Linked DNA regions of Homo sapiens: all the other regions are linked to region 6. The links are contacts of gene promoters, found by promoter capture Hi-C in blood cells and fetal thymus (Javierre and others, 2016). All regions are on one chromosome and are shown on one strand. Each heading gives the region's core, a stretch centred on a gene start or on the middle of the fragment in contact. The rest is flanking DNA. Distances are from core to core; before and after follow the strand shown. Region 1 holds the start of OR10AG1 (olfactory receptor family 10 subfamily AG member 1). Region 2 holds the start of OR5AP2 (olfactory receptor family 5 subfamily AP member 2). Region 3 holds the start of OR5D14 (olfactory receptor family 5 subfamily D member 14). Region 4 holds the start of OR5I1 (olfactory receptor family 5 subfamily I member 1). Region 5 holds the start of OR5M11 (olfactory receptor family 5 subfamily M member 11). Region 6 holds the start of OR5T2 (olfactory receptor family 5 subfamily T member 2).

Region 1 (4,151 bases), core at 1,419-3,918, 260 kb before region 6:
ACTCAGTTATTTTTCATTTTATTGCTCAGGTGGTCTCTTAATCAACAGTTAACCATTGATCTTCAGAATGAGATCTTGGCACCTTAGTTAAATTGTGCTCCAACTGCACAGTAGCACATAACTATATTCTGTGAATAAAACACCCCTTGACATAATGTAAGTTTGTATTTAAATTTCAGTACTCATTATTGAATACCATAGGGACAAAGTTAAAAAAAAATTCACTGAAGCCACATGACAAACCTATAAAGAAATTATTTCTGTAATTTCAAGTCTTCATCTCATGTTAATAACTTAGCTAGTAATTTTCTCAATGCCACCATGATATCTTTGTTCCTCAGGGTATATATAATAGGATTCAAAGTTGGAATCAGAATGGTGTAGAAAAGAGAAATCAGTTTCCCCATCCTTTGAAACTGATGTGGTTTGGGCTGTAAATAAGTGATAGTACCTGCTCCAAAGAATAAGATTACAACTATTAGGTGAGATGAGCAGGTGGAGAAGGCTTTAGCCTTTCCTCTGGCTGATGACAATTTCAAAATGTTGGAGATAATTTTGCCATAAGAGACAACAATCAACAGAAATGGCACCGTGATAAACACCACCGCTACTACATGGACTGTTATCTCATTCACAAATATGTTTCCACAAGCAAGCTTGAGTATTGGCGGGATGTCACAAAAGAAATGATTAATTGTGTTAGTTCCGCAAAAGGGCAAAAGGAAAATTTGGCATGTTTCCCCAATTACTACAGGAATTGTGATGGTCCAGGAAGCTATTATCAGCTGAATGCAGACTTTGTGGTTCATCACTAGAGGATACTGCAAAGGCTTACAAATAGCCACGTAGCGGTCATAGGCCATCACTGTCAGAAGGAGACACTCCGTGCCTCCAAGCATAAGAAAAAAACACATTTGTGTAGCACAAGCAAACAAAGAAATATTTCCTTTCTGAGTCCAAATGTCCATGAGCATTCTTGGGATAATGATTGTTACATAACAGATTTCCAAAAGGGAAAAATTGCTAAGAAAAAAATACATGGGAGTCTGGAGAGCGGGGTGAATTTTTATTAGTAGTATTATGATGCCATTGCACATCAGGATCATCAAATACATAAGTAAAAATATACTAAAAAGCATCCAGTGGAGATTGGGAATATCAGAAAACCCCAAAAGAACAAATTCCATTATTGTAGTCACATTTGATTTTTCTCTTTTAGTTTGCTCTCCATCTGCAGATATAGCAAATTCAAGACAGTTAATTCATCCATATTTTGAACAATATTTTCCTCTTGGGTTAACTAAATGAGATACAGGAATATACTTACTTAAGCTCTTAAGTCATTTTCACCAGTACTTGCTCTGTTTCTAGATAATAAACTGATTTAGCATTAAAATCAATTTAAGAAATGAAACCTCAATATATTTTATTATACTGGGATATAATGCAACCAGAGGCATTGAGAAGCATGCATTGTTGTTTAGAAAATATTATGGAGGAATAACATCTTATTATTTCACACTTAAGAGTAGAGTTATAGTGTAGGCTTTTACTATTTCATCTGAGAATATCATTTTTCTTTGTATTGGTAGTCATATTCCAGTTTTTTTAATTCAAAATGTTGCCCTTGAATATTACGATTAATTCATACTCAAAATGAATTTTAAACTTTTCCTTTTATGCACCAGTGAGAATCAATTATCTTAAACAATTTCTTGGTTACTGAGAGACTAAATACATGCATTATTGTTGCTCTACTTCATGTCTCTCTCCTATTATTTATGCTAAATATAAAAACACTAATACCAGTAGGCAGTTTATTGACTTCCCCTGTTATTGCCCTGAATACAGTGAATGCTAAATAGTAATTAAATTATAACTTAATCAAGATGTAGAAATTCATCACAATTTTTTTTACATTTCTTTTTTTTATCTAAGTGAATTTCTCCATTGTCATATAACCAAATACAGTTCCTTTCAACCAAATACAATTCCTTCTCTCTATTTTCCCTTCATCCTGTTGCCTTATTAAAGTAAAATTCTTTGATTAAACCCAGCTAACATTTACTCTGGCCATCTAAGTGGCCAGAGCATATAAATGGGACCAAAAAATTAAACAAAACAAAACAAAAACACACTGTCTTGCTTCACTTCATGTCAATGTCATCCAATATGAGGAAATCACTGCTTGTCAATTCCCATTACACTTGCTTAACGTTTGTTCTCCAACTTTCTAAACAAATTCTTTTTTTCTGTGTCTTCAAATCTGCTGCACCTATACCTATTTTAGCCCGGTCAGCCAATGCATTTGACTTAATACGTTGATAAATGAAAGTGATCAGACAAATACTATCTCATATTTATACATTTCTATTAGTACTAGTTTTCAAAATTGCCTTAAATGACTTTTCATCACTAATGCAATTTTACCATTATTGGACATCTAATTTTATTTAACTTTGTAGTGAAGAGATACATGATTTAAATGTTAAATAATTAATTTTCAGATAAAGGTCTCAAAATTTCATGCTTTTCTGTTTTATTAGTTGCATTTCTATCCACAAACTTGTAACTATTCTTAAATAAAATAGTCTGTCAACCCAATTATGGCTTACCTTTAGGGATTTGCATGAAGCTGTCTGTACAGACTTTTTAAGCTCTTCCTTTTCTCGGGAACTGTAATTTTGCAATACGCTTGCTTGTTTCAAACAGCAACAGCTCTTATATAGGAATAGTCAGACTCAACCTGGGATGTGTCTTCTCTTGAGTATCAGTTTAATTTCTAGAAGGCTGCTTCTGTTTGTCAATCATTCTGATTCATTTTTCAAAACTACTTTAAGTAAACTTATCCTCCTCTTCATCTCCTCATGAGGGGAGTTAATTAAATACCATTTAGTTGTCTAGTATTACTTTCAGGAAAAAGTTAAAAATTTTCCAACTGTGTATTTGAGGCCCCTAATACTTAGTGTGGATTTGTCTGCCTTACTTCTATTCCAATAATTTATCCAGATCCAAATTAACTAGACCTTTAAAAAATATATCATGTGTTTAATCACACGAACATGATATGCTTGATGTCTTCGACATATTGAACGGTGAGATTCTTTTTCAGATGTGGAACCCTCTGTTCCTAGGTTAACTTTTTTTGTGGATATTAAAACATGTTAATTCTGCTGAGAAAATCTATCTATACATTTATTTCATTCTGTGTTGTCTATAAGGCACCAGGGAAATGTATCCAGCTGATTGAAAATGTAATATACCACTCCAAGACGTCCCACTAGACGCAGTCAAGAGGAACATCGCCCACGAGGGACCAGGACATCAGGAAGATTGGTGCACTCCTAGCAAATCTTCAGAAGGAAAGGAATTCTGCATGGGGGTACCACACACAGGAAGCATTCCTGGCCCCCAGTGACTCCTGCAAAAGCATGAGTTGAATGGGCAAGGAGCAACCCTCTCTTTCCATGAGCCTCCGAATCCCAGCAGGAGAAAACCCCTGGACCACAAGTAACACTTGAACTGGCAGGGAGAGATGCTTAGACAAGTGGTAGGGGCAGAACTCCAGCCTGTGTGGAATCCAGAGGGTTTAGTGTGAAAGTGTCTGTAGTGGAGCATGGCCAGGGATGCCCATCCCCCCAGGCTTGACCTGCTCCCGTAGGAAGCTTTAGCCCTATGGGAACTATGGGACCTGAATTCTGCACGGCAGTCTCACCCACTACATGAGGCTATTCTAACTTCAGCACCACTCAGTTTGCTGGCCTCTCCTGGGTCCCAGCTTGGCCCCCAGCCAGGTACCTCCTGGGGGCCACATCATAGCTCCTGTGCTGGTGGACCCCCGGCTGACCAGCAGACTGATCCAGCAGAGTAGCCTGTGCAGACACAGGCCAGCCCACCAGCACCCTCCCTGCACTGCAGCCTCTCGGGCCACTTTGCCTGCACTCACTCACCCATAGCCACCCCCTATTTATGTCTCTCTCCTATTATTTATGCTAATTATAAAAACACTAATACCAGCATCCCTTTGCCAGTGAGTGTGTGTGCCAGAGGACATTGCCTTCCCTTCCCTGCCACTGTGAGTGTGCCCATACATCCTGTGTGCCACTGCTCCCGGAGTGAGTGCACCTTTGGCCCTGCTGCAGAGCCGTTGT
Region 2 (4,322 bases), core at 1,551-4,050, 410 kb after region 6:
CTTCTTTTGTGGTCTCTAATGAATATTTTATTTATTTATTTATTTATTTATTTATTTATTTGAGACGGAGTCTCGCTCTGTTACCCAGACTGGAGTGCAGTGGCGTGATCTCGGCTCACTGCAACCTCTGCCTCCTGGATTCAAGCTATTATCCTGCCTCAGCCCCCCGAGTAGCTGGGACTACAGGCACCTGCCACCATGCGCAGGTAATTTTTGTACTTTTAGTAGAGACGGGGTTTCACCATATTGGCCAGGCTGGTCTCGAACTCCTGACCTTGTGATCCGCCCACCTCAGCCTCCCAAAGTGCTGGGATTACAGGCGTGAGCCACCACACCCAGCCTCCAATGAATTTTTTAAGAATGAGGTGGTCTCAGTTGGAACACTGAAAACACTGGTGTCTCCCTCCTGGTCTACAGTGGATGGCGGAATAGAAAGAAATTAGAACTAGACATTTACCTAACTCCAAATCATTACACAGACTTCCTTCAACATGTCATCTCATCACAGAAGGCTGTTGTCTCATTGCTCCAACATTGAGAGTTTCCTCCTCACTATGATAAGCAATACAGATACAATTTTCTTTGATAAGTATTTATTGAAAATTATGTGAACCTTTAGGAAGAGCAGAGATAAAACGTTGAAGTACATTGATTACTACCAACAAAATATTCAGTTTAATTCAAAAGTCAGTAAAATATTCCCCCATTATTCTTGTGGTTCCCACAATATCATAATACCTGATAAGACTTATTCATCTATCTGATTTGGTACCTCTTGACATACTTGTAGGTAGAGTAGTGTTATTATTTATTATGAATGCTGTGGCACACTACCCAGATTTTTTTTTTTTTTTTTTTTTTTGAGACGGAGTCTCGCTCTGTCGCCCAGGCTGGAGTGCAGTGGCGGGATCTCGGCTCACTGCAAGCTCCGCCTCCCGGGTTCACGCCATTCTCCTGCCTCAGCCTCCCAAGTAGCTGGGACTACAGGCGCCCGCCACTACGCCCGGCTAATTTTTTGTATTTTTAGTAGAGACGGGGTTTCACCGTTTTAGCCGGGATGGTCTCGATCTCCTGACCTCGTGATCCGCCCGCCTCGGCCTCCCAAAGTGCTGGGATTACAGGCGTGAGCCACCGCGCCCGGCCCACACTACCCAGATTTGCCTCTCAGGTTGAAGTATTCATTTCCCCAGCTTCCAGGCATATAGGCCACTGACAGCTGATAGCTGACCTACACTCCAGGAATTTCCCCTGCTGAAGGGAATTGCCTTGTCCAAGATAATATTACCCCCTCTCAGTGGGTGATCATGTCCAAAAATTGGCTATTGTGGAGGTACAAATACTTGTTCCTTTTTTCTTAATTTGGGACATCTCTGAAGGACATCTCTGCAGAACGCCATGTAACAGTGGCTCAGTCTTCGTCACAATTCAACTCCTTCTGTCCAATCCTGCTCCCCTCACTATATATTGTTTGTGAGAACACTCTGATAAACTTTCTGCCTAAAAATATCTCTCTGTCTCAGTTTGTTTGCCCAGAACCCAAAGACACCAATGTTTGTATAATAAAACTCAGACTGAGATAAGCTTAATATTTAAATTAAAACTTAAGTCCAGATTAGCCAATTCCAAGTGTTTTGATACTTTTTCCAGTCCCAACCTTCATCTAGTGTATTGGTGCATCAAAGGGACCCGTGTGTGTGTGTGTATATATATATGAGATACTAGGATATTAAAAAGTATACTTCATTTTAAATTATCTACTTTAACACAGAGAAACAGCTTAAACAATCAGAGAATACAGTTAACATGAAAATGTATTTTCTTCTACGTAACAAATGATGGGTAACATGGCTCTACAAGATGTGTTTCCATAAGATCTTCTTTAGGGCCTTTTTTACATCCTTATTTTTTAAACTATAGATGAGGGGATTTAGCACAGGGATTATTACTGTATAAAAGACAGAGACAACCTTGTCTTGCTCCATTGAGTAGCTAGATGTAGGGCGCAAGTACATGAAGAGGATTGTTCCAAAGAATATGGTGACAGCCATGAGGTAAGAGGCACAGGTGGAGAAGGCTTTGTGCCTGCCCTCTAACGAAGGCATCTTCAAGACGGCAATGAAGATACACAGGTAGGAAATGAGGACAATCATAACACAGCTGATGACAATAAAACTTGAGAATGCCATGATCACAATGCCATTGAAGTGGGTATCAGAGCAAGAGAGTTTGAGCAGTGGCGGGGTGTCACAGTAGAAATGGTTGATCCTATTAGAACCACAAAAGGACAACCTAAAAGTCATCCCTGTATGTATGGCTGCATTTCCACAACCTGCTAAGAAGGAGGTAGCTATTAGCAAAAAGCAAATTCTCCCAGACACGAGAACTGGGTAGAGCAGGGGGTTCCAAATGGCTGCATAGCGGTCATATGCCATCATGGCCAACAGGAAGCACTCAGTCCCCAGGAAGGAGCCAAAGAAGTAGAACTGGGCAGCACATCCATGAAAAGAAATGGCCTTATTCTCAGCCATGAGGTTCACCAGCATCTTGGGAGTGACGGAAGAAGAGTAAGAGGCATCTACAAAAGAGAGGCTACTGAGAAAGAAATACATGGGGGTGTGGAGACAGAGATCAATCTTAATCAATACAATCATCCCCAAATTGCCCACCATGTTTGCCATATAGATCAACAGAAACAATGCAAAGAGGACTCCTTGTAGATCTGGATTGTCGGAAAGTCCTAAGAGGAGAAATTCTGTTACTTCTGTTTGATTTCTGCCTCGAACCTCTTTCATAAGTCTCATCATTTGAGCTGCAATAAGAAAGAAGATGCACAGTGGAATTTAGTCAGATGAATACATGATGGAGCTATAATATATTTTTAGTGAAACAACTTCTAACAGAAGAGCAAAAAGTGAAAAGCATAATAAAAGGTATGTTGGATTTGATGCCAAATCAAAAGACTTGTAGTACTAGATGTGCTGTCTACTAATGACTGAAGCAAGTGATTTAGTGTGTATTAACTATGGTCATTCCTACAGTTAACTCTTTATTGAATAATTAAAATAACTTATTCTTAAGATGTGACTGTCATAATTACTTGTGATAAATAAATTAATTTATATATACTGACATACCCTCCAGACACAACTTCTGGAGAAGGATGATAGAATGAATTCAGGACACTTACAATTCCTCCTCAGTACTAATAGAATGAATAAAAATATTGAAAGTTAATAAAATTAATCTATAGTGCCAGACAAGAAAAATAGTTGGGCTGGGCCTGGTGGCTTACAACTGTAATCCCAGTACTTTGAGAGACCAAGGCAAGGCAGATCACTTGAGCTCAAGAGTTAAAGACCAGCCTGGGCAATGTGGCAAAATCTCCTCTCTGCAATATTTAAAAAAAAAAAAAAAAAAAGCTATGTGTGGTGGCTCATCCCTGTGGTCTCAGCTACTCAGGAGGCTGAGGTGGGAGGATTGCTTGACCCCAGGAGTTTGAGGCTGCACTGAGCTGGGTTTGCACCACTGCACCACTCCAGCCTGTGCAGTAGAGTGAGACGGTGCCAAAAAAAAAAAAAAAAGAGAAAGAAAGAAAGAAGGAAACAAAGAAAGAAAGAAAGAAGGAAGGAAGGAGAGAGAGAAGGAAGGAAGGAAGGAAGGAAGGAAGGAAGGAAGGAAGGAAGGAAGGAAGGAAAAAAGAAAGAAAGGAAAGAAAGAAAGAGAGAAGGAAAGAAAGAGAAAAGAAAGAAAGAAAGAAAAACAGCAGAATCTCTTGGGGTAGAGGAAGAGCTTAAAAATGCCTGGCCAAAGAAGAAAATAGAGAATATTCCCACACAGCCAGTACAGTTCGAACCCCACTCTGATTTTCCATAATAAACATCTACAGAGAACAGAATAGGGTCAGTTAAATAGTAATTTTCCACAATTCATTCCAATATTTAGAGAATCAGATTGTAAGAATGAGTAGGCATCCCCGATAAAAATGGCAGAAGTAGCCAAGCCAGTGAAAATCTCTAATACTCACATTCACAAGTTCTCAAGAGAACCAGAAAACATCAGAAGTAGCACATGCAATTTTTCAGCCACCATACTTAATCAAGGGAATAATTTAATACCAAGTAATCAAAATGGAAATAAGAGTCACCCTTTGCAAGGTGTAATGAAGACAAACATAGGATAAGAAAAGTAAAAGAAATAAAAAAGAAAATTCAGAATAGATGCCCAAACTAGATCTTCCAAATCAAAATGTAAACACCACCAGCGGAATTCTCCTCCAATTTAACGCAAATCCTCCACCCCTTCCATGATCTCAGATTATTAAA
Region 3 (4,277 bases), core at 1,337-3,836, 440 kb before region 6:
ATATACATACATGCATGTATAGATGATCATGTATATATATGCATGTATATATATTTGGTTGCCCACTGTGATTGACGCATCTGAAATCAGCTACATGCTCAGCTCTGAACATGTGGGCCTAGTTCTACAGGAATAATGGATATTGCAACTAACTTTGTAAGCAAATCAATCCATGGAAATTGTTAACTCAGAACATACTTAAATTGCTTTTTGCCAAGGAAAACACACTCTAGCACTTAGTGGCTGAAGGCAGTTTGATATTTCTCACCATTCTCTGGACTTACTGGGTGGTTCTTCTTCCAGTCTCACTGGGGCTCACTCACGTTGCTGAACTTACTTGGGGATTCTGATGGAGCTAACGCTTCCAAGATAGCATCACTCACTTGTTACCTGACTTGGTGCTGGCCATTGGTTGTGGTGTCTCAGTATTTTCCCAAGGAGTTTCTCATCTGCTTGTAGGGTACAATGGTTTTATTATGTGGTGTTCTCAGAGCAGCATTTGAAGAGAATGAAAGAAACTGCAATGCCTTTTGATGCCTCAACTCAGAATGCTCACGTCACTCCTGCAATATTTTCTTGGTCAAACAAGTCACAATTCCAATTTAATGAATCAATCACTGTGTTCTCTAGTGGAAGCATGACACACTTGGGAGATAAAACCTCTAAACCCTTAGAGCTCATGGTTTCTCTTATGGGAAAGTTCTAGGTCTCACAAATTATTGGAGGAACAGCAATGTATGTTGGTTGCAGATTTCAAGCATATAATATATTCAGGAGGCTATTACTCCATCCTTCTAAGGTATTGCCAAAGAACCTGCCCTGTAACTAAGTTTCAAAAGGTGTTCCTCATGTTCCAAGCATACTTTTTGAATTTGTAAATACTAGAATATTTGTCTTTAACTGTTGCTTTTCAGGGCCACCTTAAGGTAGGATTACAGTCCTGCAGTTATTCACTTTTGTGTGGGCCAGCATATCATGGGGAATCATCTGAAAATGAGGCTCCTATGCTTTCTTCCACATTCAGGTTGCCATAGGGAATGCCCCATGAGACACAAATTCAGGCTGAGCAAGAAGAAGCAATACAGCAAGGTATGGGCCACGGACATCTGTAGCACTTGATTATGAAATTTACTTGTGTTTTCAGGAATAGGAGTGCTATTGGCTGCTGCATATTTATACCCAGGATGCATGCAGGATAGATTATATCTCACTAAGAGGTGCACTGAATTTTGGAACAGATGAGGCAAGTATTTAAAGTTTTATTGTAATTTGAATTACATGCAAGCAAAGCTTGATAGTTAACTTCATGCTGCATTTTTTTTTCTGAGTAGTTTCAAGGAAATTCCAGTCACTAAATGTGACACAAGAGACTTGGTATTTGCCTTAATTGCCTGTTTTGATGCTTGTAAAGAGTAAGTTGTTAGTGATTCTCCAGAGTTTGAGTCCCTAGGGCTATGAAGTTAAATGAAAGAGTCTTGGTGCCTCAGGTATACACTGTCTGAAGAGACAGGAGGGTGGCAGCCTGTTTCTTTGTATGTAGCAGGTAAGTGTATTCAGGCTTTCTATGAAACTGAAAATAGGGTCTTCCTGATACGGCAAATGGGGCCTTTGATTTTTTAAATGTTAAATCACTGTGTTATTCAATTCTGTGCCCAATAATATTAAAAAATGAGGTCAACACTCATGAAAATATTTAGCCTTATATCCATTGAAAATTATCTCATGATGAATAGTATAAACTTGCTACTTGGAAATGGATATTTATCCATATTTCCTTTATATTCATCTTAAATTAGTGTGTAAATTTTTATAAGATTGAAAACTAGTCAGGCTTAAGGGAACTTTCACCTGATAAATCTTGAGACTCTTATAAGATACTTATGCAATACCTGAGCTATAGTAGATGCTGACCCTTAAGTCATAAACCCCAATAAAATGCCCATTCCACCAAGAGGTCAAAAGTAGGCCATTGTCCTTGTCAACTCCTCAGCAACTAAGATATTCAATGAGAGAAGTAGCCTTTCTAGAATAAAAGTTGGTAAAAAGTGGAATTAGTGTGCTCTTTTTCCAGATTTCTACAATATTTTCCTTTATCCTTAGAATAGAAATATATTCTGAATATTTTAATCAATTTGTCTATATAAACAAATACAGTAGCAATGCATGTTGTTGTTTGATGTAAATATTTTACATTTTCCACAGAATCTTTATTAGTTTATATATTTATGTATAAACATTTTCTATAAGTTATGTGCATGTCATGCTACTAGTTAATGTGTAGACATGTATACTACTGTACACATATACACACACATACACATACACATATATATTCACACATATATATATGTATGAAAACAGAAAGTGTAATAAAAATGGAAAGACACTCCAAAGACTTGGCTTGGTTTGTTTTAGACATAACAGCTGCCTGCATGAGGTATGTTCTTCTTGGACAAAACTAGGACCAGTAACTATTCCTTCTCCTTTTTTCCTTTTAATCAAAGAAAGTCATGACATAATTATCACTCACCCCATATTTTGCTTTGGCAGGAACAATTCTCTTCAACCCTTCCATTAAAAGGAATTATGATGATGGTTTTAAGGAATCTGAGCATGGAGCCCACCTTTGCCCTTTTAGGTTTCACAGATTACCCAAAGCTTCAGATTCCTCTCTTCCTTGTGTTTCTGCTCATGTATGTTATCACAGTGGTAGGAAACCTTGGGATGATCATAATAATCAAGATTAACCCCAAATTTCACACTCCTATGTACTTTTTCCTTAGTCACCTCTCTTTTGTTGATTTTTGTTACTCTTCCATTGTCACTCCCAAGCTGCTTGAGAACTTGGTAATGGCAGATAAAAGCATCTTCTACTTTAGCTGCATGATGCAGTACTTCCTGTCCTGCACTGCTGTGGTGACAGAGTCTTTCTTGCTGGCAGTGATGGCCTATGACCGCTTTGTGGCCATCTGCAATCCTCTGCTTTATACAGTGGCCATGTCACAGAGGCTCTGTGCCCTGCTGGTGGCTGGGTCATATCTCTGGGGCATGTTTGGCCCCTTGGTACTCCTTTGTTATGCTCTCCGGTTAAACTTCTCTGGACCTAATGTAATCAACCACTTCTTTTGTGAGTATACTGCTCTCATCTCTGTGTCTGGCTCTGATATACTCATCCCCCACCTGCTGCTTTTCAGCTTCGCCACCTTCAATGAGATGTGTACACTACTGATCATCCTCACTTCCTATGTTTTCATTTTTGTGACTGTACTAAAAATCCGTTCTGTTAGTGGGCGCCACAAAGCCTTCTCCACCTGGGCCTCCCACCTGACTTCTATCACCATCTTCCATGGGACCATCCTTTTCCTTTACTGTGTACCCAACTCCAAAAACTCTCGGCAAACAGTCAAAGTGGCCTCTGTATTTTACACAGTTGTCAACCCCATGCTGAACCCTCTGATCTACAGCCTAAGGAATAAAGACGTGAAGGATGCTTTCTGGAAGTTAATACATACACAAGTTCCATTTCACTGAACCAGTCTCAAAAGTTGTTTTCAATCCAAATGAACAACCCAAACAGAGGCTACAATGTTTCTAAAGCCTAGAGCATATATTTATATGAGGTTTTTATGGAATTGTCAAATGTGAATTGATATAGCATTCCCAGTATTATCAGGTTCAGAAATCTCTACAAGTTTAGTCCAGTTTATACAAAATGAATGAAAATAAACATTTAATCTGAAAACAATGAGAAACCATATTTCAAAATTATTTCTAACTTTTATATGAATGACTAAATAAACACAAATATTTGGTAACAAATACTATACAAATTCAAGCAACATTCTCCAAATTTTCTCTAAAAAGAAACCTTTCCCCTAGGAACAAAACTAGGGCTTCTTGGAGAAATGGCTAATTTGAAGTCTAGGGTGGAAAATAGGCAAGATGAGCTTTGGGCAATTTAATGCTCCAGAAAGATAGAATACTATCAGCAGCTAATCAGATTGTCTCAAAGAGATATAGGAAGCAATTTGAAATGGCTGATGCTGGTTTATGGTCAGAAAAAACTTTTTAAACATAAAAATGGATATTGATTACAATTGATTTAAAGTCCTCATATAGATTTAAATCTAGGTACTGAAAAAGAAAAAAATAAATAAGCCATTGTTTAATATCAATGGATATTAGGGCACCAATTCATTACTCTGAAAATAAGTAATTAAATAATATATATATTTATTCTATTTTTCCTATATGAATAGTATGTCAGCATCACCTAC
Region 4 (4,679 bases), core at 1,948-4,447, 300 kb before region 6:
ACCCTAGGATTTTTAGAGGGGTAAATGAGCATTGGCATCAACTTAAAGTTGCAGTTTCCTCTAAAAAGAGATCAGCCTGTTCTGTGAAGGTTTTATGCCAGTCATTGACTTCTCTCTAGCTATAAAGGTCTTAGGTGATATCTTCCAATATAAGGTTGTTTCCTCTATATTGAAAGGATGTTGTTTAGTGCAGCCTTCATCAATTAACTTAGCTGGATCTTATGGATAACTTACTGTAGCTTCTGCATCAGCTCTTGCTGTTTCACTTTGTGCTTTTATGTTACGGAGATGGCTTATGTCCTTAAACCACAGGAATCAACCTCTGATAGCTTAAATTATTTCTTCTATGGTGTCCTCACCTCTCTCAGCCTTCACAGAATTGAAGAGAGTTAGGGCTTTGCTCTGGATTAGGTTTTGGATTAATGGATTGTTGTGGTTGTTTTGATCTTCAAGCCAGACCACTGAAATTTTCCCCATATCAGCAATAAGAGTGTTTTATTTCTTATCACTCATGTTCACTGAAGTGGCATTTTAAATTTCCTTCAAGAATTTATCTTTCTATTCACAATGTGGCAGTTATCCTGGCACAGGTTTTCAGCCTAACTTGTCTTTTGCCATGCTTTCCTCACTAAGCTTCGTTATTTCTAACTCTTTATTTAATGTGAGAGATGTGCAATACTTCCTTTTGCTTGAACATTTAAAGGCCGTTGCAAGGTTAATTGCAACTTGTCTACTTTTGATATAGTTGTGTCTCAGGAAATAGGGAGGCCAAAGGAAAGGGAGAGAGCCAGAAGGTCAGTTGGCAGAGCAGTCAGAATGTATATAACATTTATCAATTAAGTTCACTGTCTTTTATGGGTACAGTCCATTGTGCCCCTAAATAATGATAATAGTAACATCAAAGATCACTGATCACAGATCTTCACAATAGATAAAATAATAATGTAAAGATTGAGACATTGTAAGAATTACCAAAATGTGACACAGAGACATGATATGAGAACATAATGTTGGAAAACTGGTGCCAGTAGACTTGCTTAACACAGTGTGGTCCTGAACTTTTAATTTGTGAAGAAAAAAACAATATCTGTGAAATGAAATAAAATGATACATGCTTGCATAACTGTAAACTTTCATATTTCCATTTCATAGCTTGTAAACAGTTATCATACATAATAATGATTTGCAGCACACAATATTAGTTACAGAAATACATTTTGTAATAATACACATACTTCTACACATCCTTCAATTAGAATTTTCAAACACACATTTCATGCATGGTTTTCTACCACAGTACTGGATTGATCTCCCTATGAGGATACAATTACGATAGTGTAATAAATTAGAGATAGTATTCTTTTTCTGAGATTCCAGCAAAGAACGTTCCTCACATTCAGTAACACATTGGTGTATTTAAAAACAAGAGATAGTAAAACAAATATTTTGCATTGCAATTAACCTATATTGCTCAAGCCACTAAGAAAATGTTTCCAAATTGCTTTATGATACATTGGATGTAGAAAGTTATCAACATGTTATCACCTGCATTTTAAAAAATATTATTTGGCTTTTTATGATTGCTTTTCTAACATTCTAGCCTCTATCATCTTATTTTATTACATGCATTTTAATTAGTGTGAGATATTATAAAAACATATCTTATAACAAACATGTAAGTGTATATAATGTCCAGGCACTATTCTCAGCTCTTAACTGTATTAACTCTGTTCACCATCAAACAATCAATAGCATATGTGCAATATTCATCCCATTTTACAGATAAATGAGGCATAGAAAAATTAAGCAACTCATTCAATATGCCACTCACTAGCCAAGTATAGATCTGGCATATAAATCAAAGCAATCTGACTTATTTTCTTATCCAGTTATCCAGTAATCTACACTTATAACTGAGATATTCTACAGATAGATACGCACATGTACATGCATGCATACTTTTCTGAAATATTTACTATATCCCTTAAGATGGCTTGATGAAATTGATTTTAGCATAAATCTCAAGCTAGTAATAACTGAAAAGTAGTATAACTAGCATTTAGCAGGAACTTTGAAACTTTTAAATGATTTTAAAAATATTTTAGGACTATGAAATTCATTTGGCTGCATTAAACAAAGTGCTTGATAAAATCCCTAGTGTGAGAGGTTGTGTGTGTGTACAGGTAAGGTTGTTGTAAGTTCCCAATTACAGTATGTGATTGAGAAATTAGATGTATCTTGAGATGCTTTATCTCATGAAGAATCTACCTTTGATCTTAGAACTTTCTCAGCTGCATCCTTTACATCTTTATTTCTCAAACTATAAATCAACGGATTCAGCACTGGAATGAAAATGGTGTAGAACACTGAGATAATTTTATCAGTGTTTGGAGAATACAGGTAGCTGGGCCGTGAGTAAATAAAGAGGAGAGTCCCTTGGTAGATCGTCACTGAAGTCAGGTGAGAGGCGCATGTAGAAAAGGTCTTCTTCCTCCCACTGAAAGAGCGGATCTTTAAGACTGAGAGAAGAATGAAAAAGTAGGAGATGATGATGATGATAAAACAAATGATTTCCACTGAGCTGCCGTATGTGGAGAGGAGCCACTCATTAATTGTTGTGTCAGTGCAGGATAGTTTAAGCAGGGGAGGGAGGTCACAGAAAAAATGATTAATAACATTTTTGTCACAATATTTCAGAATAAAGGCAAAGGATGTGTGAACCAGGGAACTCATGTTGCCTCCAAGGTATGACAAGACAATCAACCGCATACAGATGCCCCTAGACATCACAACTGTGTACAATAAAGGGTTACAGATGGCGACATAGCGATCATAGGCCATGGCGGCCAGGATGAAGGATTCTGTATCTGCAAAAGTACAGAAAAAATAAAACTGCAGGGCACACCCATAATAGGAAATAGATTTGTTCTCCGAGAGGAAATTGACCAGCATTTTGGGAACAATGTCTGAGAAATAGCAAAGGTCTACAAATGATAGGTTGCTAAGGAAAAAATACATGGGGGTTTGAAGGTGAGGATCAATCCTGATCAACAGCATCAATCCAATGTTCCCTATCAGAATTATAGCATACAATGTCAGAAACATGAGGAACAGGACAATCTGCAGTTCAGGGCGAGTTGGAAAACCTAATAGAATAAACTCAGTGACCAACGTGTAGTTTCTATCTGTAAATTCCATCTTCTGTGTTGTTTTCCTTTTATGAGAATTTCTAATACCCTACAATGCTATAATGATGAAAAAAGAAAAATAATTAGATGTAATTATAAAGTTATTTTATTGTTTAAAAATAAATAAATGGCAATAAGATAAAGAAAGCAAGCTCAAACTTTTTTGAACTATAAACTCTGAGAAATATATTTCAGAATTTAGTAATATCATATTTCATGGTTGCAGGTTATATTTTATTTGATTACTATTTCTTCCATTGAACAGTTGACTTCCTATGTGCATGGATCATGTCTGATTTGGCTTACCATTTTGCACCCAAAATATTAAACAATTACTGGCCCAGAGTATTAAAAAAGTAATAAATTAATGAACAGACTGATGATCACATTAAGTAAAGAAAATATGTATATTATTAAAAATGGACTGACTTATAGAGTGTTCCTTTGAATAAGAATTTTAGAACATCTGCTTCTTGTTTTCAGGATTTGATAGATACCGGTATGCTGTGTCTCTTGACTGAGTAAATAGAGTGGTGTGATGAAATATGCCGGCTAATTTTTTTTTTACTGTAAAGCAGAAGCTTTAGCGAAATAAAAACAAATGTCAGTAAATACCAGCTCTGAGGATATTTTTGACAGAAAAGAGCTTAGTGTAATTCCATAAACCCTGTTCACATACTAAACTAAGCTGATAAAATTAGTTAACTACTTGTTTCAATACTTCTGGCATTTATCGAACTCCTTGGCTTCCTGGAAATGCTCATTAAACATTAGTGGACTGACCAAGTACAGTCAGCAAAACATTTAGTTATATGTTAACTTGCAATTAAATAACATTACTATATATGGCATCATCACTGATTAAATTTTATAAGTAAAGAACAATTGTTGCATTTATTGTTATGGTAGTATAATACAAAGTGTTGAGTCAGAAAAATCTGTTAAACACTGCTTCTGAGGTCTCAAAATACTTACAGAATTATAAAAATTTTTAACTTGACTTTGAAGTACAAATAATTTGATTTTGACCATGAAGGATAGACTTGGAAATACGTAAAAAACAAAACAACAACAAAAAAAAGCAAGCAAAGCATCAATCTCTAAAGTTCATGTTGAGAGGGCCAAGATGGGAATTAAAAATATTTGAGTCACTGCCTCATTTACATAATAGATATTATGACAATGACAGTGCTAAAGACAATTTATTTATCTCATGTAAGCAATAAAACTACCCAATGACATAAACACTGAGAAGCCTATTGATAATCAGAAGGGTTAATCACGTGCTCAAAGTGCTGCCTTATGTTATCACCTCAAAGCGTGTGAATGAGATGCAGCACTACAGCAGGACAGTGGTTATTCTCATTTTGCTTGTTTGAAAATAGTCAAGGTATTTAGACAATATAAGACATCACTTCGATTTAGGAGGAATTTGATTAGATGCCCATCTTGGCTGCATGGGGGCTGTGTGACCTTGTGCCACTTAATATA
Region 5 (4,481 bases), core at 259-2,758, 310 kb after region 6:
CTTATAAAAACCAGAAGCCATCACCATGGCCCCTAGTTTCTGGTCTACCACAGCAAGTCAGGAAAGGAGTACAGAAGAATGGATTTCTTGGAGTGCAGAAGAATGGGTTTCTTAAAGACATCTCTGCTGAAGCAGCAGGCGAGAATAAGAATAGAATACATTCAAGAAATTGGGCTGGGAGCACATTTATTTTGTTTGCCATTGTAAACAAAAAGAGCACAACAGTGTTCCAGGGCATGCCACGTTTCACCCACAGCAGTGCTCCTCAAAATTCAGTGTGCTTATCAATCATCTAGGAGTTTGGATAAAACACATATTTAAATACAGTGCACCTGAGGTGCAGACTTTGATTCTGTACGTGTAACAACCTCCAAGGAAGAGCTCATGCTGCTGATTCATGGAATATATGTGGAGGAGCAAAGCCTAGAAAAATCTCATTTTTACCCAGCATGAGCTTTTTAGCTGAGACACTCAACATAGACTCACAGAGAATATTAAAACTCACCATCAGAACGCTAGGACATGTGAGCCAAAGATTTCGATTTAATGTTTATTAGGAAACAAAGGCATCACCATGGTCATGACAATATTTCATCTCAGGACATTCTTCAAGGCCTGCTTCACATCTTTATTCCTCAGACTGTAGATCAATGGATTAAGTACCGGACTCACAAAGGTGTAAAAGACAGCTATTATTTTAGATTCCTCAACAGTCTTATCTGTTGGTGGTCTTATATACATGCAAAAGAGAGTCCCATAAAACAGGGTGACAGCCATCATATGGGAACCACAGGTGGAGAATGCCTTGTGCCTTCCCTCTGCTGATTTGATCCGGAGGATGGCAGCAAGAATGAAGGCATAGGACACCAAGACGATGGTGAGGGAGCTGGAGAGGTTGAAGCCAGCAGATATGAACATGGCATGCTCTTTGACATAAGTATCAGAACAAGAAAGCTTAATGAGCGGCGGGTCAGCACAGTAGAAGTGGTTGATGACACTGGATCTACAGAAGGTCAGGCGGAAGGTCAGGATGGCCTGGAAGAGTCCATCTGAGAAGCCATAGACATAGGGAAATGTGGCCAAGCAGATGCAAACTCTCCTGGACGTTTTCACACTGTAGCGCAGAGGGTCATATATGGCCACATAGCGGTCATAGGCCATTGCTGCCAGCATGTAAAACTCAGTGAGTAGAAGGGCAATGAAAATGTAGCACTGTGTAAAGCAACCAGCAAAGGAAATGGTCTTCTCAGATACGATATTAGTCGACATCTGCGGGGTTGCATTTGATGTATAGCACAAATCCACAAAGGCTAAGTTAGTGAGGAAGAAGTACATGGGCGTGTGAAGGCGAGAGTCCAGTCTCATTAACATTATCATGCCCAGGTTGCCTAGCAGGGTGACGAGGTAAACAACCAGAAACAGCACAAAAAGCAGAGACTGGAGTTCCGGGCAATCTGTGAGCCCAAGTAAAATGAATTCTGTGATTGCACTGCCATTTGTGTTGGACATTTCCTGACAGTTTGCTCTTCAAGCTATGGAAATAAAGCCAATATAAACAAATGCACATACCATGTTAATGTTCATTTGAATTAGTTTTTCTCCACATCTTCATATATCATCGAAAGTTATCTATTTCTGGGTACTACCATAAACTGGTTTTGGTAATTATGGTAGACTTACTATAATTTTGTAAGTCTACAATGTCATTATATCATTTGCCTAGGCATTACATTACTAATATATTCTTTCTCTACACCTATAGATATATCTATACCTACACCTGTATCTATCTATCCATCATCTATCTATCTATCTATCTATCTATCTATCTATATGACTGAGCTACATCTCTTCTATCTTCCTGTACTTTTTAAAACCTAATTCTATTCATGCTACATGACCCACTTTAAAGGCCACTTCTTTGTGAAGCATTTCTCATCCATTTCTCCTAATACGTGTCACTGAATTCTCTCTTCTTTATTTCCAGAGTATTCTATATTTCTCTAATTTATTATTTAGCCCCCATTGTATCATTATAAAGTATATACTTTCTCATCACATAATGGTGTTGAGAGCAGGGACAAAGTGAAGTTCATTTTTTAATTATACTTCTCAACACATATTTTTATACTAAATTTTCTTAAAATGCAAAAAGGAGAGCATGTAAGAATGAATGACTTGCAATTTTTACTCACAGATTTATCTCCATGTAGCCTTGCGTGATGTCATGTTCTCAGGAGAATTAAGTGATTATTGAAACTTAGTGTAGAAGCAATTCTTGGGAAGCTTGTTTATTAGCCCATATCACAGGTTTTTGCAGAAATTCTTATGTGGGGTACTGGAATCTTCATCTCTAATGATTATCTGTAGGATTCTAATGCAAGTGTTCCAAGATCATAGCTCAAAATGCACAGTCAGAATGGCTCAATAAACATATGCCAAATAAATGAACAAAGAACTGTGAAATAAAATAAATTTTCATATAGTATCTTGAGGATGTTTAGAGCAATGACTTAATGTGTTTAGAAAGAAAATAAATTAATATTTTCAGAGTTGGTATTTAATCTTTTAATCACAACTTGTATCTAACAAGAGGTATTACAAATCCTTTTGGCTTTTTACCTCTCTTCACATCAGAATCTTTGCTAATTCACATTTTCCTTTCTTTCGAGAAGTTTTTAATTTTTGCCCATTCTTTCATACTTGAAATTTTTATTACAGGCTTCTCAATTCTTGTCTCATCTCAAAATGAGTCACCTCATTTATTTTACTGTAAGTTTTAGAATGCCTATAATCAAAACTCTGTCTTGCTGTTACTATTGAGAAAAGCAACGTACAAAAAGGTTAAATAATTGAACCGAGGTCACACTACTAGTGCATACAATCTGAGAATCTGAGGTAAGAACTGAAAATTATGTATTTTAAAAACTTCCTTTATTAGCTGCTGCTGCAATACATATCACCTTTCTAAAGCTAAACTGTTTCATAAAATTGTATGTATAGACCTGGAAGGCCTTGAGATATATGATGATAAGGAACTTCTGGGGACACAGATAGTCATGGCATTCTTACATAGTGCACCATGATAAACAGGATTGTGCCAGACACATTCTCCTTACACTTAGTCATGTTCTACTATGTGACTGACTTGTGCCCTTGAGTACCTGTATGTGATATATCTAAGAAATATCAAGTAGAAGCTATGACATATCTTGATGTTAGGAGCTGGTTAGGAGCCCTGGATTACAGAGTTACTTCAGTAATTTAAAAGCTTTGCAACTGAATGAATCACTGTGTTTTCCCATGTGTAAATGGAAATAATAATATTTATCTTTCCTCTTCTCATGTCATTTTGGGCATCAAAATAGATATTCATGAAACAAGTATTTACTGATACTCAATATTTTGTGTGATTGGGCACTATAGATGCAGAAGCGAACAAACCTTTCAAAAATTTCTGCTTTTTTTGGTTTTCCCATTCTAGTGGACAGAGAGAGCTATTATTTCAAGTAAATAAATAATATTCAAATAACTGTTGTGGAGAAAAATAAAGGAAATACAGTTTTGGGGAAAGGAAAGTCAAGGAAGACCTCATTAAAAAAGTAATGTTTGGCCAGGCAGGATGGCTCATGCCTGTAGTTCGAGCACTTTGGGAGGCTGAGGCGGGTGGGTCACCTGAGGTCAGGAGTTCAAGACCAGCCTGGCCAACACGGAGAAACCCCATCTCTACTAAAAATACAAAAATCAGTCAGGTGTGGTGGCACGTGCCTGTAATCTCAGCTACTTCGGAGGCTGAGGCAGAAGAATTGCTCAAGCCCAGGATGGAGAGGTTGCAGTGAGCGGAGATCAGCCACTGTACTCCAGCCTGGCGACAGAGTAAGGTTCTACCAAAAAAAAAAAAAAAGTAAAGTTTATGGCAACAACTGTAGCAAGAAAACTTCTAAGAAGGATATCATAAGAAGTGTAAACCAAAAATAAATAAAGGGACTTCCTCCTCAGCCAGGGCTTGTAAAATTTAACTTGAAAGACTAGTTCAGGCGGTTAAGGGAAATGGGGGTCGGACATGCCTCATTATTCCTCTCCAGCATTAACATAACACAGACTTTTCTATTGATCTCAGGTCTTTAGACAAACCAATTGTCAACCAGAAAATATTTAAATTTACCTACAGCCTGGAAACGCCACGCCACGCTGCCCCAACCTGGACTTTGAGTTGTCCTGCACCAAACCAAGGTAAATCTTACATGTATTGATTGATAGATTATGTCTCTCTAAAATGTATAAAAGCAAGCTGTACCATGACCACCTTCAACACATGTCCTCAGGACCTCTGGAAGCTGTGTCACAGGTGTGTCCTCAACCTTGGCAAAATAAACTTTCTAAACTAACTGAGACCTGTCTCAGATTTCCTGGGTCTACAGAAGGATAACGAGCAAATACAAGGATACCAGATGTAATGGTTCTTTGGAAACTATCACTGA
Region 6 (4,352 bases), core at 154-2,653:
AGCAGGCATCCACAGAAGACAACATACTCAGAAAATAGTACATGGGTTTGTGGAGCTGGGAATCCCTAATGACCACTAAAATCAGTCCTAAATTTCCCATGAGAGTGAAGAGGTAGATTGCTAGAAACAGGAAGAAGAAGATAGTCTGCAGTTCAAGATTGTCTGTGAAGCCCTTCAGTACAAATAAGGTAACTTCAGTGACATTCTTCATGTTGAAATCTAGAACAAACTTGAAGATATGCATAAAGTTACAGTTCATATTATGACAAAAAGAATGAACAACACCATGACTCAAGGGGATGTTAACTGTGCTCTTGTATATACTGTACGACATATATTCAGCAGTGCATAATTCTCTAGTAGTGAATCAGAAGACAGTGACAAACTGGTCAGCCATGTGTTCATGCCACTCACTGCAGAATCAAATGGAAGAAATGGACGTTCATTAGTTGGCTGGACTTATTCTGTTTCTAAAATCATCAGGTCTACTGGTTAATTTACCACTGAATTGTATTAAGCTGTTTATATATTAAATAATATTAAAACACACAAAAATGAGTGGCTTAAACAATCTTTGGGCATCCAAATACACAAGAGACTGTATCAGGGGACAGAGCATTGGAATACAATACCAGAATTTTAGAACTTGTAGCAATTGTGCAAAATGATTTGCTATATCTACTTGTCTATAGAATGAGAACATTAATAGTTTGTTCACAAGATTGGAGTAAATATTGAAGGAAAATTGCATTAATAAAATATAATATGTAAAATAATTTTGATTATAGAATATGCTGAATTAAGTTGGTTCTACATTCTATCAAGATTAAATCCAATGAACAGTTATGATTTTTTTCATCTGCTCATTCAAATGTCTCTGAATTATTCTTTGGAGAATGAAGAAGTTTTGTGAATTACTTGATCATTTTATGCCAAAAATAAACATGCAAATTACCATGATTCCATTTTCTACATTACAATTGTCTTAATTTTGCTTTGTGCAAATAAGATACTTCAACCAAATTTCTTGTGAGACAGGCATTTCTACTAGATGCCAAAATAAGTTATATTGGGTAAAAATTAAGTTAATATTAGCACATAGTCAAAGATTCAGAGTTATAAAGAGAAAATCACTATGATTCTTGAAGATTTAATAATATAGAATCAACTTTTTAAATTAATGCAAATCTATTTTTATGAAACAAATTTTAATGGAAGGGAGAAAACTTTAAATATCGTGAATGTAATAACGAAACACTAAGTTTGCTAAATAACAGGCATTTATTTAGCACTTGCTGCAAGAACAGACATTTCTTGTACATTACCTTATTTCACCTTTATAGCAACTTTCATAGCTAACAATTTCCAGAGCCAAGATTCAATCCCAGGTTTCTCTCATTGTACATGAAATTTTTGCATTTTTTCATGGCCTCATAAATGGCTTCATTCTGCAACTGGAACACTCTTCCTCTTACCCCTCTGCTGACCTCAGGGAAATAAAGGTAAAGCAAAACATGATTCTCGATGTATTTGTATTTTTTAAGCCATTAAATCTAGAGAAACATAAAATAAGTAGCAATCTGAAGTGACTTCTAGATTATAAAGCCAGAAAATAAATTTAAAATAAGTATTGATTGTTTTCCTTATTACTTCAAAATACAAGACCCCAGATAAATGAATAAGTCAAATGTTTTTTTGCCCTTTGTTGATATTTATTGGTAAATTCATGACCTTTGAACTATCTTTATCTATAAGAAAAATACAAGCATATACTCTATTAGGAGCACTCTTATTTATCTCTATAAGTACAAATACAATATTTTCTATTTTTTATTGTTTTCTAGTAAGTGTTGGATTTTAATTCTTAGGCATAACTCTAAATAAATCATATTTTGATGAATACACTTGATTCACATATGTAATAGTCCAGAACTGAAGTGTTTAGTTCTTGGTGTTTAGCAGCTAAAAAGTTTAGTAAAAAAAAACATAGTTATTCTTGATATTGTAGGTTCTAGCTGCCGAAATATTCTTCAAATTATCTGAAATTTTCTCTTACCTGTGGAACAGCAAATGCAGATTTAGGTATTCTATGAATATGGCTAACTTAGATTGTTTATATCTTTGTAATTGACTGTTGATGAAATCCAAGGAGATGTCCCAAGGGGAATATGCCCCAATTATCTTCTGTTTCAAAATAGCACCATGATGATTTACTTAATAATAAAAAGTAAATGATTCCGGAATAAGGCACTGCATGCTCCTACTTATTGAATCAATAGAGTTCTTTGGCTTCTGTTTAAAATGTGTCAGATTTGAATTTCCCTGATGACTACTGATGTTGAACATCTTTTCATACATCTGAAGGCCATTTGTATGTCTTCTTTGGAAAAAAAATGTATTCAAGTCCTTTGCCAGTTTTAAAATAAGATTATTGTTATTGTGGCTATTGAATTTATATATTTTGATATTAATCCCCTATTAGATATATCATTTACAAATATTTTTTGTTTGGCTGATGGTTTTCTTCATTGTGCAGAAGATTTTGACTTTGACGTAGCCCTACTTGTCTAATTTTGGTTTTGTTACTTGGCTTTTTATGTCATTGCTTGTATTTTTATGTTACATCCAACAAGTTACTGCCAAGCTGAAGGTCCTAAAGTTTTTCCTTATGTTTTCTTCTAGAAATTGTAGTTTCAGGTTTTATGTTTAAATTTTTAATCCATTTTGGGTTGGTTATTTTATATGGTATAAGACAAGGGTCCAATTTAATTTCCCATTGTGTATTCTTGGCACACTTGTGAAAGATCATTTGACTATATACATGTGGGATTGTTTCCAGGCTCCCTATTCTGTTCCGTTGGTCTATATATCTGTCCTTATTCCAGTCCCATGCTATTTAATTACTGTAGTTTTGTAATATCATTGAAATAAAAAAGTATAATACCTCTAGCTTTGTTTTTCTTTCTCAAGATTCCTTTGGCTATTTGAAGTCTTTTGTAATTGCACATAATTTTTACGATGTTTTTTCTATTTCTGTAAAACCCAGCACTAGGATTTTGCAGGAAATGCATTAAATCTGAAGACCCCTTTGGGTAATATGGAGATTTTAATTATTGCAGATCAAAACCACAATGAGATATCATCACACACCTGTTATGGCCATTATTTAAAAAAAAAAAGTATTGATAAGAATGTGGAGAAATTGGAACCCTGGTGTACTGTTGACAAGAATATAAAACAGTGCAGCCATGATTGAAAATAGTATGGAAGTTCCTTGAAACATTAAAAACAGGATTACTATACAATCCTGAAATTCTGAAACCACCTTCGCAAAATTATGACAGTAAGAGAAATCTGCCATGACTGACTTCTTCTTGCTTCTATCATCACAGGCTGTCTGTCTTTGCTCATCTCTGGGCATGGACCAAATAACTTCGGGAGAAATTTAGTTTATAGTTTAAATGATAATAGTCCTTTGCAAAAACTAAACCACCTTTGTAAAACTAATCAAAGGCACCAAGTTAAGAGGATGAGAGGAGTCTGTGTTCTGCTAAGATATAGGCCTAGTAAAATGATTACCAGCCATTTTTTCCTGGAAGTCACAAGATTTGCAGCTTCCCCAATTATTCCTGCAGATAACATAGCTATTGTAGAACCTAAGATTGGCATTTTGAGATTCTTTTCAAATATTTGTATATCTGATAGCTGGATGGCCCCACCTGGACCTCTGACTCAAACAGTCATGTGGCCCCCACCCAGAAACACACTCAACACATGAGGATCATTTTCCACATCCCTATGATTCATCCTAAACTGATCAGCAACACCCATACCCTAGCCCTCTGCCCATCAAACTATCTTTGAAAAGCACCTAACTTTCAAGCCTTCAAGGAGATTGAATTGAGTAATAACTCCCTCTCCCATATGGTGTGGCAAGCCTCATCTCTTTTGCTTATTCTCATGCATTTTCATCCTCATAGCTTAGCTCCAGCTTATGAATGAGATGACATGATATTTATTTTTCCATTCTTTTCTTTACTGCAATGCCGTGGTCTCAGTAAATTGATTTTGTCTGTGGAGCAGTCAGCAAAAAATCCATTTGGCAGTTACAATTCGATATCTGGGTATTTATCCAAAATACTTGAAATCAGGATTTTGAAGATATATGTAGTCCATGTTTAATGCAGTATTATTCACAATGGCCAAAATGTGGAAGCAACCTAAATGTGCATTAATAGATTAATGGCAAACGAATAAGAGGTATATACACAGCTTTAAAAAGAGTAGACCCTGTCATATGTGTTATCATGGTAGAACCAGGAGGACTTTACTGACAAACACTGTGTGATTCC

The links. Contacts are between HindIII fragments. The CHiCAGO score rates a contact against its expected background, and 5 or more counts as called.
Region 1: the fragment with the promoter of OR10AG1 here is called in contact with the fragment with the promoter of OR5T2 in region 6 in 2 of 17 cell types (megakaryocytes and non-activated CD4 T cells); the score reaches 5.2 in megakaryocytes.
Region 2: the fragment with the promoter of OR5AP2 here is called in contact with the fragment with the promoter of OR5T2 in region 6 in 4 of 17 cell types (M2 macrophages, neutrophils, fetal thymus and 1 more); the score reaches 10.2 in M2 macrophages.
Region 3: a contact is called between the fragment with the promoter of OR5D14 here and the fragment with the promoter of OR5T2 in region 6, in 6 of 17 cell types (erythroblasts, total CD4 T cells, neutrophils and 3 more). The highest score is 7.9, in erythroblasts.
Region 4: the fragment with the promoter of OR5I1 here is called in contact with the fragment with the promoter of OR5T2 in region 6 in 4 of 17 cell types (M1 macrophages, activated CD4 T cells, endothelial precursors and 1 more); the score reaches 6.8 in M1 macrophages.
Region 5: the fragment with the promoter of OR5M11 here is called in contact with the fragment with the promoter of OR5T2 in region 6 in 9 of 17 cell types (M2 macrophages, neutrophils, endothelial precursors and 6 more); the score reaches 10.0 in M2 macrophages.

The regions. Positions count from the first base shown.
Region 1 is chr11:55,967,277-55,971,427 of GRCh38, forward strand. OR10AG1 (olfactory receptor family 10 subfamily AG member 1) reads right to left here and starts at 2,669. Exons shown (of 2, transcript NM_001005491.2): 1 at 2,616-2,669; 2 at 1-1,231. The coding sequence starts at 2,631. The coding sequence ends at 282. The HindIII fragment of the contact is 3,009 bases long and covers 655-3,663 here.
Region 2 is chr11:56,639,639-56,643,960 of GRCh38, forward strand. It overlaps OR5AP2 (olfactory receptor family 5 subfamily AP member 2), which reads right to left and starts at 2,801. Exons shown (of 1, transcript NM_001002925.1): 1 at 1,851-2,801. The coding sequence starts at 2,801. The coding sequence ends at 1,851. The HindIII fragment of the contact is 8,469 bases long and covers 1,580-4,322 here.
Region 3 is chr11:55,792,970-55,797,246 of GRCh38, forward strand. OR5D14 (olfactory receptor family 5 subfamily D member 14) reads left to right here and starts at 2,587. Exons shown (of 1, transcript NM_001004735.1): 1 at 2,587-3,531. The coding sequence starts at 2,587. The coding sequence ends at 3,531. The HindIII fragment of the contact is 1,368 bases long and covers 1,289-2,656 here.
Region 4 is chr11:55,933,203-55,937,881 of GRCh38, forward strand. OR5I1 (olfactory receptor family 5 subfamily I member 1) reads right to left here and starts at 3,198. Exons shown (of 1, transcript NM_006637.1): 1 at 2,254-3,198. The coding sequence starts at 3,198. The coding sequence ends at 2,254. The HindIII fragment of the contact is 3,136 bases long and covers 632-3,767 here.
Region 5 is chr11:56,541,749-56,546,229 of GRCh38, forward strand. It overlaps OR5M11 (olfactory receptor family 5 subfamily M member 11), which reads right to left and starts at 1,509. Exons shown (of 1, transcript NM_001005245.1): 1 at 592-1,509. The coding sequence starts at 1,509. The coding sequence ends at 592. The HindIII fragment of the contact is 1,332 bases long and covers 953-2,284 here.
Region 6 is chr11:56,232,852-56,237,203 of GRCh38, forward strand. OR5T2 (olfactory receptor family 5 subfamily T member 2) reads right to left here and starts at 1,404. Exons shown (of 2, transcript NM_001004746.4): 1 at 1,326-1,404; 2 at 1-413. The coding sequence starts at 211. The HindIII fragment of the contact is 5,726 bases long and covers 1-4,352 here.